Regions from separate parts of the Homo sapiens genome. Here regions 2, 3, 4, 5 and 6 are each linked to region 1. Evidence: promoter capture Hi-C in 16 types of primary human blood cells and fetal thymus (Javierre and others, 2016). All regions are on one chromosome and are shown on one strand. Each heading gives the region's core, a stretch centred on a gene start or on the middle of the fragment in contact. The rest is flanking DNA. Distances are from core to core; before and after follow the strand shown. Region 1 holds the start of CPOX (coproporphyrinogen oxidase). Region 2 has its middle 9.1 kb from the start of CMSS1. Region 3 overlaps CMSS1 (cms1 ribosomal small subunit homolog). Region 4 overlaps COL8A1 (collagen type VIII alpha 1 chain). Region 5 overlaps COL8A1 (collagen type VIII alpha 1 chain). Region 6 overlaps COL8A1 (collagen type VIII alpha 1 chain).

Region 1 (2,802 bases), core at 242-2,741:
GGTGAGGCTTCGGCAAGCACACCCACCTTGCTAACATCATGTCCCAGTGAGAGCTGCCAGGTACAGTTGTGTGTGGACAAGATGCCAATTGATCTGACTCAAAAGCCATTGAAGTTCCATCAGTGCATCCTGCCACAAAGAAAACACTTGTGGGAAAAGCTACCAGTGGCTTAAATTATTATCTACTACTAGAAATTAAAATCATCCCGGAGACTTATGGGACAAATTAGCCCATGACAATAGTTCTCACACTTTTACGTCCAGGAACCATGGAGCTGTGGTATGGTTACAGGGGAGACAAAGACCTGCCTGTCAAATCTATTAGCTTCTTTCCTCATTTCTTTAAAGGGTGGGGGAAGGGAGACAGAGTAGGAGGAAGTGTGGATATTTGCCTTGCCTAGTTTGTAGCAGTTGTTGTAAGTATTAAACGTGAGCAATATTTGGGAGCACCCTACAGTAGTAGAATAACTATTTTTTAAATTCTTATTTGTTAATCACCAAAACACACCAAGTCAGGAATTTTCTACTGGTTAACCAAAACAGTCACGTTGCTTTTCCTTTTTCTAAAATAATCAAGTAGGCACTATAGAAGCAAGGCCTGGGGAAACCTTTTTTTTTTTTTTTTTTTTCTGAGACAGAGTCTCACTCTGTCACCCAGGCTGGAGTGCAGTGGTGCGATCTCGGCTCACTACAACCTCTGCCTCCCGGGTTCAAGCGATTCTCCTGCCTCAGCCTCCCGAGTAGCTGAGCCTACAGGTGCACGCCGCCACGCCCGGCTATTTTTTTGTAGTTTTAGTAGAGACAGGGTTTCACCATGTTGGCTGGTCTCGAACTCCTGACCTCATGTGATCCAACCGCCTCGGCTTTCCAAAATGCTAGCATTACAGGCTTGAGCCACCGCGCCCGGCCCCAGCCTGGGGAAATCTTAAGGACAGAACTGTGATGTGGACTCGATCACAGAAAGTCTTCTCCTCGACTCTCTTCCGAGTCCATTACTAGCTTCTCCCACTCTCTTTAGAAAACCATCCTTCAGCAAAGAGTTTCCCAGCCTGCCCATCCCCTCTAAAAACTCTAGAGGACCAGGACCCAGGGCGAAGGGCGGGTCTATACAGATCCTGAGCCAGGCTCTGTATTCGCAAATCCTGTTTGAAAATGTAAGCGGGACTGGGATCTCTGCCACATTTCCGCCCCAGTCCGCCCTCAGCCTCCCAGCCCTACTCTATCTTCTCTCCTTGGCTGAGTAAACAGCCGACCCGAGGTTGTACGTGACAAGAAAGCCTCTTTTATCTCTCCCGTCCCTTCCACAGCACCGTCCCCGCCCCACTCTCTTCCCTTCGGACCAGCCCTTCTGGGCGCGTCGGATTCTTATCTCCCGCCCCGCGCAGGGACGCCGCAGGCGGCGATAGGATCCGGACTACAGCTCCCAGCGCGCCCCAGTTCCCGCCCCCGCCTCCGGAGCCCGACGCTGCAGCGGCTCTTCTCGAAAGGTTCTTTCCGCCTGTGCAGCTCGCCGGCTCAATACTCCGGGGGTCTGGGTGGGGGGCTCAAACGCAGGGCTCTGGGACGCAGGCACTGCTCCAGGTGATAGTGCGGGAACATGGCCTTGCAGCTGGGCAGGCTGAGCTCGGGCCCCTGCTGGCTCGTGGCGCGGGGCGGCTGCGGAGGGCCCCGCGCCTGGTCCCAGTGCGGCGGCGGAGGGCTCCGAGCCTGGTCCCAGCGCAGCGCAGCCGGACGCGTCTGCCGGCCCCCTGGCCCGGCTGGCACGGAGCAGAGCCGCGGGCTGGGGCACGGCTCGACGTCGAGAGGCGGCCCCTGGGTGGGGACAGGGCTGGCCGCGGCGCTGGCGGGGTTGGTGGGGCTGGCCACCGCCGCCTTCGGGCATGTGCAGCGGGCGGAGATGTTGCCTAAGACCTCGGGGACGCGGGCCACTTCGCTGGGGAGGCCGGAGGAGGAGGAGGATGAGCTGGCCCACCGCTGCAGCAGCTTCATGGCCCCGCCTGTGACCGACCTGGGCGAGCTGCGAAGGAGGCCGGGCGACATGAAGACCAAGATGGAGCTGCTGATTCTGGAGACCCAGGCCCAGGTGTGCCAGGCTCTGGCACAGGTAGACGGGGGCGCCAACTTTTCTGTGGACCGGTGGGAGAGGAAGGAAGGTAAGGAGGCCGGCCCCTGGCGGGAGTTGGAGACAGGGAAAAAGGGTCAGGTTCCAGGTTGCAGACAGAAAATATAATAGTTCACAATATGGGATGGGGTAGGTAGGGGGTACCCACAGAGAGGCCGCTTGGTTAGAGGCCGCTGATAAAAAGATGGACACGAAAGGGTCACTAGCCCTCTGCTTGCAGGTATGGACCCGGATCAGCTGTCACTGTAGTACTGCATTTCAAAATCTTTGCAATTCCGTAGCAGCATTTTTTTGTAGAACTCTTAAGGGGTATTTGCAGCTAACAAGCTTAGATGTCCAAAGTTCGTTACTGAACATAAATTTCAATAGATTATGGAACACATTTTCTCTCCTTCTCTGGGTGAATTTGCCCTTTTTCCTCTTTAGGAGATGGAAAGAACTCATCTCCTGTGCGCTAAGTGTCGGCTAAACTCCTCCAGCCAGGATGTCATTGTGTCAGAATCTTCCCACTTCTTTTTACTGTTACACAAGATATATTTGATTCGTTTCTCAGTAGCACTACCAAATGCACGCATCAGATTTCCTGCTAGGAAAATCTTCTCTTCCAATATCAAAATACTTGAGCATCAAAACCCAGTTCTCGTAGAGGCGTACATTCATGACCATGTTGTTGCCCATAC
Region 2 (3,014 bases), core at 256-2,755, 1.2 Mb before region 1:
AGATTAACTGAAGGCTGTGGATATTTTGCTGTGAACATTCTCAGGGCTGGTTAACTCTCCTGTTCTCCATCATCATATAGTTCAAAAAGACTCTGTTTTTTTCTCAAAACAAAACATTGATCCATTGTATTGATGACATAGTGTTAATTGGATCTAGAGAGCAGGTAATGGCAAGTATTCTGGATGCCCTAGTAAAATACATGCATGCCAAAGGGTGAGAGAGAAATTACAAATGTTCAGGGAACTGCAATGTTGGTTATATTTTTAGGAGTTTGGTGATCTGAAGCATGCCTGGGAATCCCCTTCAATGTAAAGGAAAATTTTTTGTATCTCTCATCTTCCCCTAAGAGAAACAGTATTTTGTGCAGATAGCCTATGCCACATTTGGAAATAGTGTTCTAACTCATTTATCAGGTGACTCAAAAGGCTGCCATTTTTGAATAGGGTCAAGAGAAGGGAGGGCTCAGCAGCAAGTCTTGGCTACGACACAAGCTGCCCTGCCACTCAGGCCATAATGACATGGCAGATCCAAAGGTGCTGAGTGATAGATAATGATGCTGGATGGAATCTCTGGCAGATCCTAAAGAGAGAATCACGGTGCCTGCTCCAAGGATTTTCTAGTACAGCTTTGCCTTCTACAGCCAAACCATTTGAAAAGCAGCTGTGGGCAAAATGTAGAGTCCTAGCAGAAACAGGCACTTGACTATGGAATATCAAATGACTATATGACCAGAACTGCCCTTCAGGAATTGGCTCTTGTAAGGTTGGGTGCTCACAGTAACAATCCACTGAACAACAGAAATGGTATACATGCGAGCACATGTAAGCAAGTCCAAAAGTCACAAGATACATGAACAGATGGCTCAGAGCTCCTTGCCTTTTGTGTTCCTCAGCTCACACCTATGTCCTCTGGGTTATTCTCTATGACCAGCTGATAATGTTGGAAAATGCTCAAAGCTGGTTAAGCTTGGTATGTTGGTAGAACTGAAAATGGATTGCTACTACACTGCGGTTCCACTCAGGGAGGATCCTTAAAGGACAGAGGTGAACAGAATCCTGGTTGGCAGAGCTTCAGTACATGCATTCATCTCCTTTGAATGGAGAAAATAGTCTGAGGTCAGTGTAAATGTAGGGCCTTGAGCAACAGTGAATGGTATGGTTGATTGGGTGAAAGGTCTCTAAGATAGAATATGTGAAGTTCAATAATAAAGAGACCTGAGGAAGAGGCATGTGGAGGGACCTAAAGGAGTGAGCACAAAGTGTGTGTGTCTTTGTGGCACATGTGTGTGTCCACCAGAGAGTATCCACTACAAGTGAAGCATTGACCAACCAGGTGGACAATGCGGTAGATTGTATTTTTCAAAGATGGCCACCAATATCCTCCATCTCACCTACTCTTCTTGTAATCTGACCTTGACAGTTCTCCCATTGAGTGGTGGGATCTGTGTTCCCTTTCCTTGAACCTTGGCAGAACTTTATCATGTCAACCAAGAGAACATGGTAGAAATGATATTCGGTGACTTCTGAGGCTAGATCCCTAAAATTCTGTGCATTTCCACCTTGCTCCCTTGGGATGCTCACTTGGAACCCAGGCATCACTCTGAGAAAGCTCAAAGTAGCCCACACAGAGAAACCCTGTGGAAAGAACACGTGTAGCTATTCTGGTCCACAGCTCAGCTAAGGTCCCTGCTGACAGCATCCACAGCCAGACCTATAAATAAAGATACCCCCAGGTGATTCCAGTCACCAGCTGTTGATTGATCCCAAGCTGTGGTCCAAGACATCATGGAGCAGAGGCTAGCCATTCCCACTATGACCTTTCTGAATGTCTGACATAACAGAATTCCTGTAAGAAGAAAATGACTGAAACCTGCTTCTTGAACTGCTGTTTCTATCATGGCCACGAGAGGGAGACCTTGTTCCTTAGGGACCTGCAAGCTGCCAAAACCGTATTCCTTTGTTGGTCCCTGCCTAGATTGGCAGTGGATTTTCCTTCCTTCTCCTGACAGGGCCTGCTGAGGTCAGGTGGCTGAATTAAAGCTTCCTTTTTCTAATCTTATGTCTTCAGTATGTATGGACTCTGTAAAGATCCTCTCATTTAGGGGAAGAAAAACCTGATTGTTAACTTTGCTTTTGTAATAAGAGAATTAGCATGCAGATTGCATATTTGGGCCTGAGGAAAAGGAAATCCAGTCATTTGGGTTTGTACTTTGAAGTTAATGGGTGAAGGCAGAGCATCTGCGTCCAGCAGCCAGGTCTTAAGGTCTCTAGAAGGTAACATCCACTGAAGTAGAGGAGGCACAGAAAGTGGCAGTTTCCATAATGGTCTGCAGAAGTGTTCCTGGGAGAGCTGGGATTTGTGGTTTTTGGACCACCAAAATGTTGCTGCTTAGGCCCCTGATGCATTATTGGTGAGAAGTGCAGTGAACTTGGAGGTAAGGGAGGCTGCTGGAAGTCATTTCCAATTGCCTCCTATGGTTTATTCCTATTGATAAATAGTTTACCCTTTAGTTTTACTTTTTAACATCATTTTTTGAAATTGTAAAATATACATAATATAAAATTTATTATCTTAACCATTTTTAAGTATATTAAGTACAGTTTAGTTCAGTGGCATTACGTACATTCACATTGTTGTGCAACCATCACCACCATTCATCCTCAGAACTCTTTTTATCTTGCAAAACTGAAACTCTGTGCCCATTATACAAAAACCCCCCTCACTCGAGCCACTGGCAACCACCATTCTGCTTGCTACCTCTATGAATTTGACTACTCTAGGTACTGCATATAAGTACAGTCATACAATATTTGTTATTTTGTGACTGGCATAATGTCCTCAAGGTTCATCCATGTTATAGCATGTGTCAAAATATTCTTCCTTTTTAAGGCTGAATAATAGTCCATTGCATTATAGGCCACATTTTGTTTATTCATTCATCCATTAGTGGCCTCTTGGGTTAATTCCACCTTTTAGATATTGTGAATAATGCTGCTATGAACATGAATATACA
Region 3 (2,935 bases), core at 261-2,760, 1.2 Mb before region 1:
TTGAACTATGCATACCCAGGTAGGCTAGAGTTCCAGGTGAAGAAAAAATAAAGCTTACATCTAAAGGAAGTTCAATTATGGCAGCACTTTTCCAAGTGTGGTAGGCCAACCACCTGAGTTGAAGAAATCACTCTGAGAGTTTATTAAAAATGTGAATTGCTGGACATATCCACAAACCAATGAATTACAATGCATAGGAGTAAGATTCAGAAATCTACAATTTAAAGACGATCCCAACATAGATTTTTGAACACTAAATTGGAGACCCAATCTAAATCTTGATAAAGTTACAGGACATCACAGAAATCCATCTTGGGAAGGCTATTATTAATGCTATAGTCACAATATTAGCAGACTTGATTAGTCTGTCACTGACTTCAACTGCAGCTTCTACTGCTCATGGCTTGGATAATATGGTTGTTCACAGAAATGTCCTGATCTCCAAGTTGTTTCCTTCCTTTTTCGTCTTTTAAAACAATTTAGTGTTCCTTTTTCTCATAGCATACTTACTATAAAATATGTGGAGAACACAGAAAATGTAAGAAAAATCAAAAGTACCTGTAAGTCCACTAATCAGGGTTAACAACCAATAGCATGGGTGCATTTTCTTTTAGTATTTTTCTCTTCACATGTAAATAATTAAAGCATGTACACAGTTTTAAATTCTACTTTTAACATATCTAAGTAAACGTTTTCCTGAAGCTTTGGCCTCATTAACAAAGCATGTTGTCATAATTATACTATAATTCATTTAACACATCCTATTCATTTAACTGTCCATTTTTCATCATTATAAACAATGCTAAAATCAAATATCCTTGACTGCCTCTCTACATCCTAGAAAAGATTCATAAGGCTCTTGATACATACTACCAAGCTGTTCCACTAATCATCATTGGAGCTGCCCATCTCACTCATACTGTGAAAACTTTTAAAAGTCTGAAGGCCCAAGTCAAATGCCATATTCTTCATGAAGCACTCTTAAAGACAATCTCATTCGAAATTAACCTTTCTCTGGCAATCTCATGGCTCTTTGAGATTAATTTGGGACACTACTCTTGTATATGTCCTACTACACCGTGATTGCCAAATATCTATTCATCTCTGTATCTACCACTATCTCTATCAAGAACTGTGCACACAGCACACATTCAACACACACCAGATTACTTTACTGACATTCTTTTCTTCAACCTGACGATCTTTGATCTGATACATCCCCAGAAACTGGTGCTTTCAAAGCCAAATCCTCCAAACTGACTCCATGTCCTAAACAATTTCTACTTCTCCACCAACTGTACCATTAATTACCTTTTGTTCTCTTGTTTAATTCAAGATCAAGGAGGTATGCAAGCAGAGAATCCCAGCACGGATCCCTAAACCGAAATCTACAGGCATCACCAAGATTTCCACTAAAGCCCCCACAGTGCCTATGGATAAGCCTATTTACCAAAATGGCTGTGGGAAGCTACACATCGTGAGAACTGTCACCTCCAACACCTTCCTCCACGTGGGAGGGAGAAGGTAACTCATACCAATGCACTGCCTGGATACATTCATCTACAGAAATATGTGGAAAGCTAAAATTACCACTATGAAAGGCCAAAGGACCATCTCTCCAGGAAATGGTGAAGCAGCTTTGTGGACCTGATGAAGATCATCCCCCAAAAAGCAGCACGTCTACAATTATTTTACTTCTATATGTGTATATGCACACACAAACACTCGCAGGCCTAGACCCACACCCAAATCTACCCATTTCCTCATCCGACATATAATCTAACCCAAAGATGAACTATCTAGAATCAGCCTGGGATAGGACTGAATTCACTAGAACAGTTCAAGAGTTTTCTGGTGAAAACAGAAGTAATTCTTCATTCTACAGAACTTTGCTGATTAATCATATTTTGCTAAGAAAAGGTGATAGCAAAAATTCCTAATCTGAGTCAAGAAAATCAGATTATTTCCATCAAGATGACAGGACAATTAAAATCACACTTTAAGGTCTAAAACTATGATTTCTTTATGACCAGGAGGGAAAAAGCAAAGTGATAATTCTTAAAGGAGGAAAAGCATAACAAAAGTGAATAACAGCCGAATATATCCTTTGTGCAGAATACCTGACAATCACTGGTGTAGTAAGCATACCTGACCACTGGCACTTAGTCTCAGTAACATTGAGATATTTTAGGGAGACATGAATCAATATTCCAGGTGCTTGAAAAAATACAGAATTTATCATCTCACAGGACATTGTTTATTCATATCTCTTCTCTGAATAAACACTATCGAAAATCAGTTGATTCAACAAAAGCTTGGGGTTAGGAGACTCAAATTCCAATCCTAGATTTTCATTCATGTGACAACGAGCTTTGCATTCATCAATCTAAGCCTTGAGTTTCCACATGTAAAACAGGAAAGTGAAATAATTCCTCAGGTCCCTTCCAGTTCTGATAACCTATGAATATGCCCAACTATTAATACAAAATGTTGAATTCAAACAGTCATCTATAAGGGTAGACACAGTCCCCTGGCAGAAAGCTAAAGCAATTCTTTACATCACACTGAAAACTCTCTCATTGAATTGAGAGAAAGGTGTGCCTGTAATTCAGTGTGGACAGAGTAATACAGGACATTTTAAGACAAGGCATGTTTGACACAAAAGGCAGTTCAAAAAACATTTCAAAAAGCTTCAATCGAGGGGGGAAAAAAATCAATGGAACGACACTAAACATTTTTTGTGATCCTTCACTAAAAACTGGAAGCATGACCCTGGAAGAAATCCTCATGGTTAAGGACTGCTTTAGCCAGCTGCCCTGGGTTGGAGCCAGCAGAGCAAGAGTAAAGGAACTCCCATTCCCCATACTTATCTAACTAAGTCCACCTCATTGCACTAATGCCACTGTACAAACACCCCCAGGCCCCTGCAATTTCA
Region 4 (2,810 bases), core at 287-2,786, 1.2 Mb before region 1:
CATATACATCCCTTTCAAACATAAATTGCAGTATACTATACACACTTCTATTTTTTGCTTTTTTCACTCAAAGATCAGTACTTATTCCTTGTCTAGTTATGTGCATCTAAACAAATTTCTTTAAGTTCTTCATTTATTAAAATATGACTTGGATGTTCCCTTAAGTCTTTTCTAGCTCTAACATTCAATGTCTGTAAGACAGTTACTAGAGATCTGAAAGTGTTAATCCATACCAGAAATGTGTGGTAATATCTGGTAATGTATAAGCTGGTACTTAATTCTACTTTTGGGGATGAATGAATTTAATTATGGAACCCCAGACTTGTGGTGAAGTCTTTAATAATAAGCTAGCATGTTTGGCCCTTCAGCCTTCCATCAATTCAGTGGATATGTTGGATTATACTTCATAATCTTTAAACCAGGACAATCTAATGAAATACTGGAAAACTGGAAGGAGATGAAATGCCTGGAAGAATACCAGTTGAATTATTTCCTCTCATAGGCTCAGCATATCTGTCCTGTAAACCAGCTCTTTAGGTCTGCCTTCTGCCATTTCTCTGGCTCTTTATCTAAATAAACTTTGTTCAGTTTTAACGTGAATATTTATATAAGGGCCCTGGTTAGAATTTACTGCTTTACTTATTCCTACTAATTTTTCTCCTGTCCCTGAGGATATTTTTGGTGGTCAAAGTGGTATGGGGGTTCTCCCAAATCACTCAAAAGAACATCAAATTTGGGTAACTTTATACAAACACCTGGCAAGAAAGAAGGAGCCTTGGAATTTTTGCTGGGAAGAAATTGTGATAGTGGGTTTTCATGCCTCTCTTTCTGAGAATGTGGGACACAATAATATTGTGAGTTCTCCTTAATATTTTCTTTGATTTCTATTTGTTTGACAGCTGGTGTGTGTGTGTGTGGGTGTGGGTGTGTGTGTGTGTGTGTATTTGTGTTCTTGAACATAAGCATATCTAATGTGTGTGAACATTGAATCTTTGCCAGCCAGGCTGGCTTAGTGATGGGTGTCATGTCATATGACAAAAGCACTGTCAAAGAAGTCAAAAGACTTTTATTTAAGTTTTGGCTCTGCCATTCTTCATGCCTATGACCTTGGACAAGTCCTTTATCTTCACTAAGCCTCAGTTTTCTTACCTGTAAAATAGCAATTATAATCTCTGCCCATCCCTCAGAGCTGTTCAGGGGTACAAATGATAATATGAATTCTTCATAAGCCAAAAAGGACTATTCAGATTTAAGTTATTATTAATGGAGTGTGACCAGAAAGACAAATCAAAACCAACTAAAATGTCAAAGATTTTCAAAGAAAGATACTAGCAAAGTAAATGTGAGGTTAACTGCAATAATGATAACCTAACATGAATAAAACAGTAATGGCCATTAAAATGCACTTGTTAAAAATGATTTAGAAAAAGAACAGCTGAACCAAGGCAGTCATTCATTCATGTGTCAAGAATAACCAATCCTAGATACTTTGAACAGCCCTAAATGGCTTCCTATATTTGAGCAGGGCTGCAGAGAATTTCAGATTCCTCATATGACCTGTAATGTACATAACAGAGTAATGTGATACATATATTAACAGAATAATGTGATAGATATTTTAAATGCTCATCAGCATTCTATTTGTACGTTTATCCTCATTGGCTTACTATACAGAAGAATGTTTAAATATTTAATCTGTTGGTCCTTGCCTTGAATCCAACTTTCCCTTTCACATAGGCTAACACAGCATGTCTTTGTGTATGTATGTGTGTCTCTGTTGTGTGTGGTGTGTATAAGCCTCTCTAATCAGTTCCTGGGCTGGTCCTCTGTGCCTCCTACTTGTACAAGATTTGTAGTCTCTCAAGACCCTCAGATTTGCCACCCTAAAGCAAGGGAAAGTCAGGCAGAATCCTCTTCCAGTGTTCACCAGAATTGCCTTCCTGGTTTTTCCATGCCTCTCAAAGAAAATTCTCTCTTGATTGCATTTCTCAGGGCAATTCATTCATTAGATATACCTATTGAACACCTATTGAACACTCAGAACAGGAAATGTTCTGAGTATTGGAGATACAGTGGTGAATTAGAGAGTGGAGGTATTATCTTATTGAACTCACAGTCTAGTGTGGAGAGACAGGTGATAAATGTTAAAAATACATTTTATAATTTGAGATTTGAGTGCTTTGAAAAAGCAATGCAGGTGTCTTAGTCATTAGGGCTGCTGTAGCAAAATACCATAGGTTGAGTGGTTTATAAAGAACAGCAATTTCTCAGTGTTCATGAGGCTGGGAAGTTCAAGATCAAGGTGCCAGCAGATTGGTTGTCTAGTGAAGACCCACTTTCTGGTTCATAGATGACACCATTTTGCTGTATCCTTACATGATAAAAGGGGCAAGGGAGCTCTCTGGAGTCTCTTTTATATGAGCACTAATTCTGTTCATGAGGACTTTGCACTCATGATCTAATTATCTCCCATAGGCCCCACCTCCTAATACCATCACTTTCGGAGGGGGGTGTCATATTTTAACATATGAATTTGGGGACATAAACATTCAATGTATAGCAGCAGGATAAAGGGTTCAATAATGACAGAGTGGAAGAGCTCCGATGTTTTGGAAAGAACGGTAGGGAATGACATCTGAGGAAGTAAATTTTGGATAGAGATGTGAAGGTTGAGAGATGTATCTTTCTTAAGACAACGTATGGGGAAAAAAGGAAAGAGTCCTGTTTACTACAATGTTAGTTGAAGGTACCTTTCACTAATATAGACTCATTTCAAAAGTATGTTCTTCATCCATGCCTGACCTCATTTT
Region 5 (3,069 bases), core at 570-3,069, 1.2 Mb before region 1:
AGTTTAATGTCTCATTCATTCATAATGTTTAATGGGAACATATTTGAAAATAAAGAGTGCTATAGAGCCATACTAATTTATAGTTCTTGCCATAGCACTTTTACTTCGAAGTCTCTCAAGTATTCAACGGTATAAAATGGACCCTTTTAATGAATGAGCAATTTGGGGCATCAACTAATGAAGCCAGATTTTTTCCTGCATGTGGAAGATGTGTGAGAATGCCCAAATCATTGCTGCTAATCTACCTTGCCCTCTATTTGACAGCATCTTAGGGAATTTGTATCAGCTACATCAAGCCAGGTACATAAACAAGTCCAGTACTGTGAAATTAGTATGTGGGCTCTGAACAGTGGAATCCTCTGGTCAGTGCTGTCGCATAGGGACAATGTGAGTCAAATATCAACTTTATGTTTTTTATTATCATATTAATAAGTAAAAAGAAACAGGTGAAATTAATTTTATTAAACCATATTTGGTAATATTTATTAATATATTTATACTTATTACTTTTATTTAACTCAAAATATTAAAAATATCATTTCAACATGCAATCAATATATAAAGTATTGATGAGACATTTTACATTCTGTTTTTCATTCCAAGTCTTAGAAATTTGGTGTATATTTCACACTCACAGCACATCTCAATTGGGACTAGCCACATTTCATATGCTCAGTACCAGAATGTGGTTAGTGGCTATCATATTGAACAGTGCAGCTATAGTCATTCCTGCTTTGCCACCATTGGAGGTGCCAGAGGGTGGCAATGTGGTGTAGAGGAAAGACAAAGACCAGCCGGGAATCTTAGACTATGACTGTTCCTGACTTGAAAAAGTGATTTAGTTTCACTGGGTCTCAAATTCCTCCTCTTTATAATGGGGATCGTTAATAACTGCCATACTCTTTTCAGGAAGCTGCGGGGAAGATTAAATAAGATATTGTATGTGAAAGTGCTCTGTTAGATCATAAAACACCATACACATGTAAAGCATTATTAGCTCTTTTGTTGTAGATTTACTCTCATGACTTGCCCAAGGCCACATTCCAAGTTGGTAGGAGAATGAAGGATAGAATCTGGGGCTTCTGACTTCCAGCCATCTGCTTCAGCTAAAGGCTATTCATACCAAGCTAGTTTTAAAATTTCTTTTTATTTTTAAAAGTCTTTTTATTTTAAAAAATTGAGGAAGGAAGACAGTGGCAGTAACAAGTAAATTCCATATTGAACAGTAAGGGTCTTCTTGGCCACAGTCATAATGTTCTGCAGTAAAATTATATGTACAGAATATTTATATACTTATATACTCAGAATTACAGTCATCAAAAATTGGAGTTTATTGCTGTCGTATAATATAAAATCCCGTGTTCTTCAAAGTTTCAAACAACTTTTAAAATGAACTGTGGTTTCCCCACTCTATTTATTTCCAAAGTGTAGTACAACCACAAGAAAGCCCTTCCGTAGTGGGCTTGATTAATAAAACAGATATGGATCAATTCAACAGGTTTTCCGTGGATATTTTTGGTTACAGATGTAGCTCATTAATTCCCATGTGTGGGACACCACCTCTCTAGTGTAAATCCAAGAGACACATTAATAGCTGAACAAAAAATGGGAATAATTCAGTTCAACCCATATTATTTAGTACATACTATGTGTAAGGCACATTAGGTATCTTAATGAGCAAAAAGCTTGTTTTTATGATGATTGTTGCTTAGAGGTATATGTTATTTAACTTGAGGAAAATATATAATCTGTCTACCAAAATGTCTATGTTCTATCATTCAGGAATCTATATTTTTGGAAGGTAAAAGGATCAGAAAGAAAACTCTAGATTATTAAAAATAATTAAAAAAGTTACATTCTGTGCTTTTGGAGGGCATGCAAAAGATTAGTTATCATGATCTATTTCCATTTTCTTAATTGTATGCCTATCATGGTGTTCATATTTAAGCTTTTTTGGTCATTATCTACATTTGTTTCAAATACATTTCTTCATAGAACTTAATAAACTACATAAAACATTAAGAGTTTTATACTATGTCAAGTTAAACCAAGTCCATTTTCACTAAGAAAAAGGTGTACATTCAAAAAATTCTTTATTATTTTTTCAATCAAAATTCATTTAAAAATACTTTCAGCTGGTTATTTTCACTGACAAACTTATCATTTGTAAGCTTCAGGCCTGCCTGAATTGATGACCATGTTGAATAAATGTGATTTTTATTTTTACTGCTGAATCATTGCTGATGACCATTGAATGAAATAGTTTATTGAATGGCCTTTAAGTTTTATTGCTTTTGCACCCTAGTTTAAAAACAAAGAGCTTAATTTCTTAAAAGTTCAATAAAATGTATTTTTGATATTTCCACCAGAACTTTACAAGCAATTTCTCTCCTCTGCCCTTTAATAACCACCTTCTGCATTTTTATGATTTAGTTTAACATTATTATTATACTTTTTTTACTGGGAGAGCTCATCAATGCCCTTGGCAGTAAGATTTTGTTACAAGAAATCCAGAAGCCGAGCCTATCACTGGTTGCAACAATTACAAAGTTTCTCTGGGTTGAGTTCAGAGGCTTACTCTGACATTATGGCTGTTACCCACATCATGCCTCTTTCCTCAGTTTTTCTAATATCCACGAGTCCTATAATCTGCTGCTTCAATGAGCATGTATTTTTTTATTCCCTGGGTTTGCATTATAAATATTTCATTTGGAGAACATCTGGCTTTGATGGAATCCAGCCAAAATAATTAGTGGTACCTATATTAAAAATGTAATGCCTTAGTAAAATCATTAATGTATTTGCATTTCTCCAGGAACTCTAAATGGATGCATTCTAGACAGGATGCAGTCAATGAGGGATTAATGATAGGGCTAAATGCTGTGCTTTTCCTTTCGTTCAGGTGTCCACCCTGTCCCAAAAAGAACAAGAAAAATCTGGGGAATCTTAGCAATTCATTCTTTTAATTATGAAATAAAATTAAATAGACTATAAAAACCATTGTACTATTATATATCAGGAAATATTGAGTCGTGTGTCCAAAAGTCACACTTAAGACCAGGCAATAGT
Region 6 (2,748 bases), core at 78-2,577, 1.2 Mb before region 1:
TATGAACAAAATTGTCCTTAAAAGAAGTAATATCTCCTGGGTTTGTTGAGCTAACATTTGATATATAAATACTATATATTAGCCTAAGAAAGAAAATACCTGTGGTCACAGCCACTTTATGTTGCATTGAATGGTATTTAGTACACTTTTCTGAAATTGGAATGTAATTTTAGTAATTTTGATAAGGCATCAGAAGATAAATCTGTTGTGTTAGAGAAGAGAATGGTATTAAAAACATCTAGTAACCACAAAATGTTAACATTCTTAGGTTGGGTGCCAAGAACATAGATTTGACCAAAAGGAGTTAAAGGAGCAATTGAGCATTACTCTGGTTACAGGGATCCCTGACTTATGTGAATGATATTGAGAAAATACCACATCCTAATGATGTAAACTAGAACTAGATGTAGAATAAGAAGTGTTCCAAGCTTTACATTGAAGAAGGCCTGGGGACGAATTTGGGAGGGTTTGTACAGCAAATGTTAACATCACAAAAGAAGGAATTTGGCCTCCAAAAAGGATTAGACTGGTGCATATACTTTGAAACATCTTGGATACAGCAGTCCTGCTATAATTCCCTCTGGCTTCATTGTAGAGTGTAAACAAAACACGACATTATTGTGGATTCTCATTGTATTCCCTGTTCTACTAGATACCCTTTGCTGAATGGATGGGATGTTGGCTGGGGATTGTGAAGTTCATTCTCTTGCTGTTGGTTGGTGTGAGTTTGAGCAGTTTACCAGACTGGAGCTAAGATTGAAGTCTCTGCTTCCTGTTATTCTGAGAAGGGTGAAGCTTCCTTTAAGACAGAGGGGAATAGTGAATCAGCTGATAATGTTGATAGCCAAGACCATGTCTCTGTGAGCCATTTCATAATGTAACTTGTTACATTGCCTACACTTGGTGGCCAATGCAGCATGTATTATATTCTGTTATTCCTTGTTGTATCATCTTTGTTATTTTTTTCTGTTAACTATTATTATTAATAACTGTTCTCTTAATAACCATAAAGAGAAAGTATGGTTAACAACTTCATCAATCCCTTAAAAAATGCAACTATTTTATGTGTTGAATGGTACCATATTTATACTTGAATTATGGGATGGTTTGACATGACAGCTAACATTTATGGAGAACTTACTATTGGCCAGACACTGTTAAAAGCACTTTACATTGATTAATTGATTTAAGCACCTATATTGGTTAACTTATTTAATTCTTAGAAAAATCTGCCTGACTGCAGAGGTTGCAGATGAACCAAGATCTCGCCACTGCACTCCGGCCTGGGCGACAGAGGGAGACTCCATCTCAAAAAAAAAAAAAAAAGAAAAAAAAGAAAAAAAAGAAAAATCTGCCTGACTGAAAGCTACTACCATAATTATTCTTACTTATCTATGTGGCATTCAAGGCACAGAGGTTTTAAATAGCATGTCAAAAATCCTACAGTCAGTAAGTAACAGGACTGGAATTTGAGCTCAGGGAATCTACCTCCAGGTTCTAAGCACTTAACTACTAACAACATATTACTTGTTTGAATGGGAACTTTGAATATTGAATAGATCGTGGTGTACACGCACACACATATATGTACAGGGGCACAAAAATACTTTTCATATTCATGTAACTCATAATTGAATTTGAAATTTATACTAATGTTGTTCTGCTCTTTATATTCATTGAGCTGCCAGATTAAAACTCAGAGTTATTGAAGAATACAGCAGGACTTTATTTATTAAGAAATCTCTGGATACCTCTTACATGCAAAGAACTCTACTGTAAATTGGAAACAAAAATAAGGCACAATCTCTAATGTTTTGTGAACCTTAAGAAAATAAGAAAATTCTTATGCACAAAGCTTCTATATAAAAAGTTCAGTTAGGTGTTAAGAGAATTTGGGCGTGATATGGTTTTCCAGGCCTCTGGTGGGTGATAGTCACTGGGCCTGAGGAGGAGGAGGCTGTTCTTACCACAGAGAAAGCAAGAAATCCTGGGTCAGCCAACGAAACAGTTCTTCTAGGTCAAGCCTCCAACTACTGGAGTCAAATGCATGGTTACTTGGGGAAGCCTGGCGGAGTAGATGGTGACCAATTGGCTGAGCTGGCTAGTCCTTGGGTGGTAGATCACCCCAGGTGAAAGCAAGAAATCTCAGGTCAGCCAAAGAGACAGTTTTTCTAGGTGAGGCCTCCAACTACTGGGGTCAAATGCATGGTTACTTGGGGAATCACGGCAGAGTAGATGGTGACCAATTGGCTGAGCTGGCTAGTCCTTGGGTGGTAGACCACCTCAGGAAGCAGAACATGGTACTGGGTGCATGGATTGTAGAGCCACACTGCCTGGGTTAAAACCCCAGCTCTGAACACTATTACCTACATGACTTTAGGGAAAGTTTGTTTTTTTTTTCCAAAAATGTTTTTGTGCCTCATTTTCCTTTTCCAGAAAATGAGGATAATAATAATAATACCGACCTCATAGGACTTTAATGCAGATTAAATAAGTATATGCATGTAAAGTGTTTAGAATGATGTCCGGCATGAAGTAAGTGCGATGTAGGTATTAACTGTTATTATTATTGTTATCATTACTGGTAGAGGCAGGAGTGGATTCAGAGGTTTAGACAGGCAGGAGGTGCACAGCCTATCTTACTTAGAACAAATGTAAACCCAAGGAACCCATCCTTCCCTCTCATCTCCCAGAGTACATTTCTCTGACTTCTGCTTATTTTGTCTTCTAAAGAAATTTATGACAATG

The links. The method cuts DNA at HindIII sites, captures the fragments that hold promoters and counts their contacts. A CHiCAGO score of 5 or more calls a contact.
Region 2: a fragment that was not itself captured here is called in contact with the fragment with the promoter of CPOX in region 1 in 11 of 17 cell types (naive CD4 T cells, naive B cells, naive CD8 T cells and 8 more); the score reaches 10.0 in naive CD4 T cells.
Region 3: a contact is called between a fragment that was not itself captured here and the fragment with the promoter of CPOX in region 1, in 1 of 17 cell types (total CD8 T cells). The highest score is 5.8, in total CD8 T cells.
Region 4: a fragment that was not itself captured here is called in contact with the fragment with the promoter of CPOX in region 1 in 1 of 17 cell types (naive CD4 T cells); the score reaches 5.1 in naive CD4 T cells.
Region 5: a fragment that was not itself captured here is called in contact with the fragment with the promoter of CPOX in region 1 in 2 of 17 cell types (naive B cells and total B cells); the score reaches 10.2 in naive B cells.
Region 6: a fragment that was not itself captured here is called in contact with the fragment with the promoter of CPOX in region 1 in 1 of 17 cell types (naive B cells); the score reaches 5.2 in naive B cells.

Annotation. Positions count from the first base shown.
Region 1 is chr3:98,592,300-98,595,101 of GRCh38, reverse strand. CPOX (coproporphyrinogen oxidase) reads left to right here and starts at 1,491. Exons shown (of 7, transcript NM_000097.7): 1 at 1,491-2,153. The coding sequence starts at 1,598. RefSeq lists an enhancer at 953-1,002 and a silencer at 1,503-1,952. The HindIII fragment of the contact is 5,536 bases long and covers 1-2,451 here.
Region 2 is chr3:99,807,269-99,810,282 of GRCh38, reverse strand. No RefSeq gene overlaps it. Among named protein-coding and RNA genes, the nearest start is that of CMSS1, 9.1 kb to the left of the region's middle. The HindIII fragment of the contact is 1,074 bases long and covers 969-2,042 here.
Region 3 is chr3:99,829,007-99,831,941 of GRCh38, reverse strand. The region is part of intron 1 of CMSS1 (cms1 ribosomal small subunit homolog); the gene reads right to left. It overlaps FILIP1L (filamin A interacting protein 1 like), which reads left to right. Exons shown (of 6, transcript NM_001387850.1): 6 at 1,337-2,935. The coding sequence ends at 1,528. The region is part of intron 1 of LOC105374010 (a long non-coding RNA gene); the gene reads right to left. Among named protein-coding and RNA genes, the nearest start is that of HP09053, 6.6 kb to the right of the region's middle. The HindIII fragment of the contact is 1,612 bases long and covers 705-2,316 here.
Region 4 is chr3:99,785,990-99,788,799 of GRCh38, reverse strand. The region is part of intron 2 of COL8A1 (collagen type VIII alpha 1 chain); the gene reads right to left. Among named protein-coding and RNA genes, the nearest start is that of CMSS1, 30 kb to the left of the region's middle. The HindIII fragment of the contact is 3,668 bases long and covers 1-2,810 here.
Region 5 is chr3:99,745,915-99,748,983 of GRCh38, reverse strand. The region is part of intron 2 of COL8A1 (collagen type VIII alpha 1 chain); the gene reads right to left. Among named protein-coding and RNA genes, the nearest start is that of CMSS1, 70 kb to the left of the region's middle. The HindIII fragment of the contact is 263 bases long and covers 1,688-1,950 here.
Region 6 is chr3:99,763,280-99,766,027 of GRCh38, reverse strand. All of the region lies in intron 2 of COL8A1 (collagen type VIII alpha 1 chain), which reads right to left. Among named protein-coding and RNA genes, the nearest start is that of CMSS1, 53 kb to the left of the region's middle. The HindIII fragment of the contact is 1,060 bases long and covers 798-1,857 here.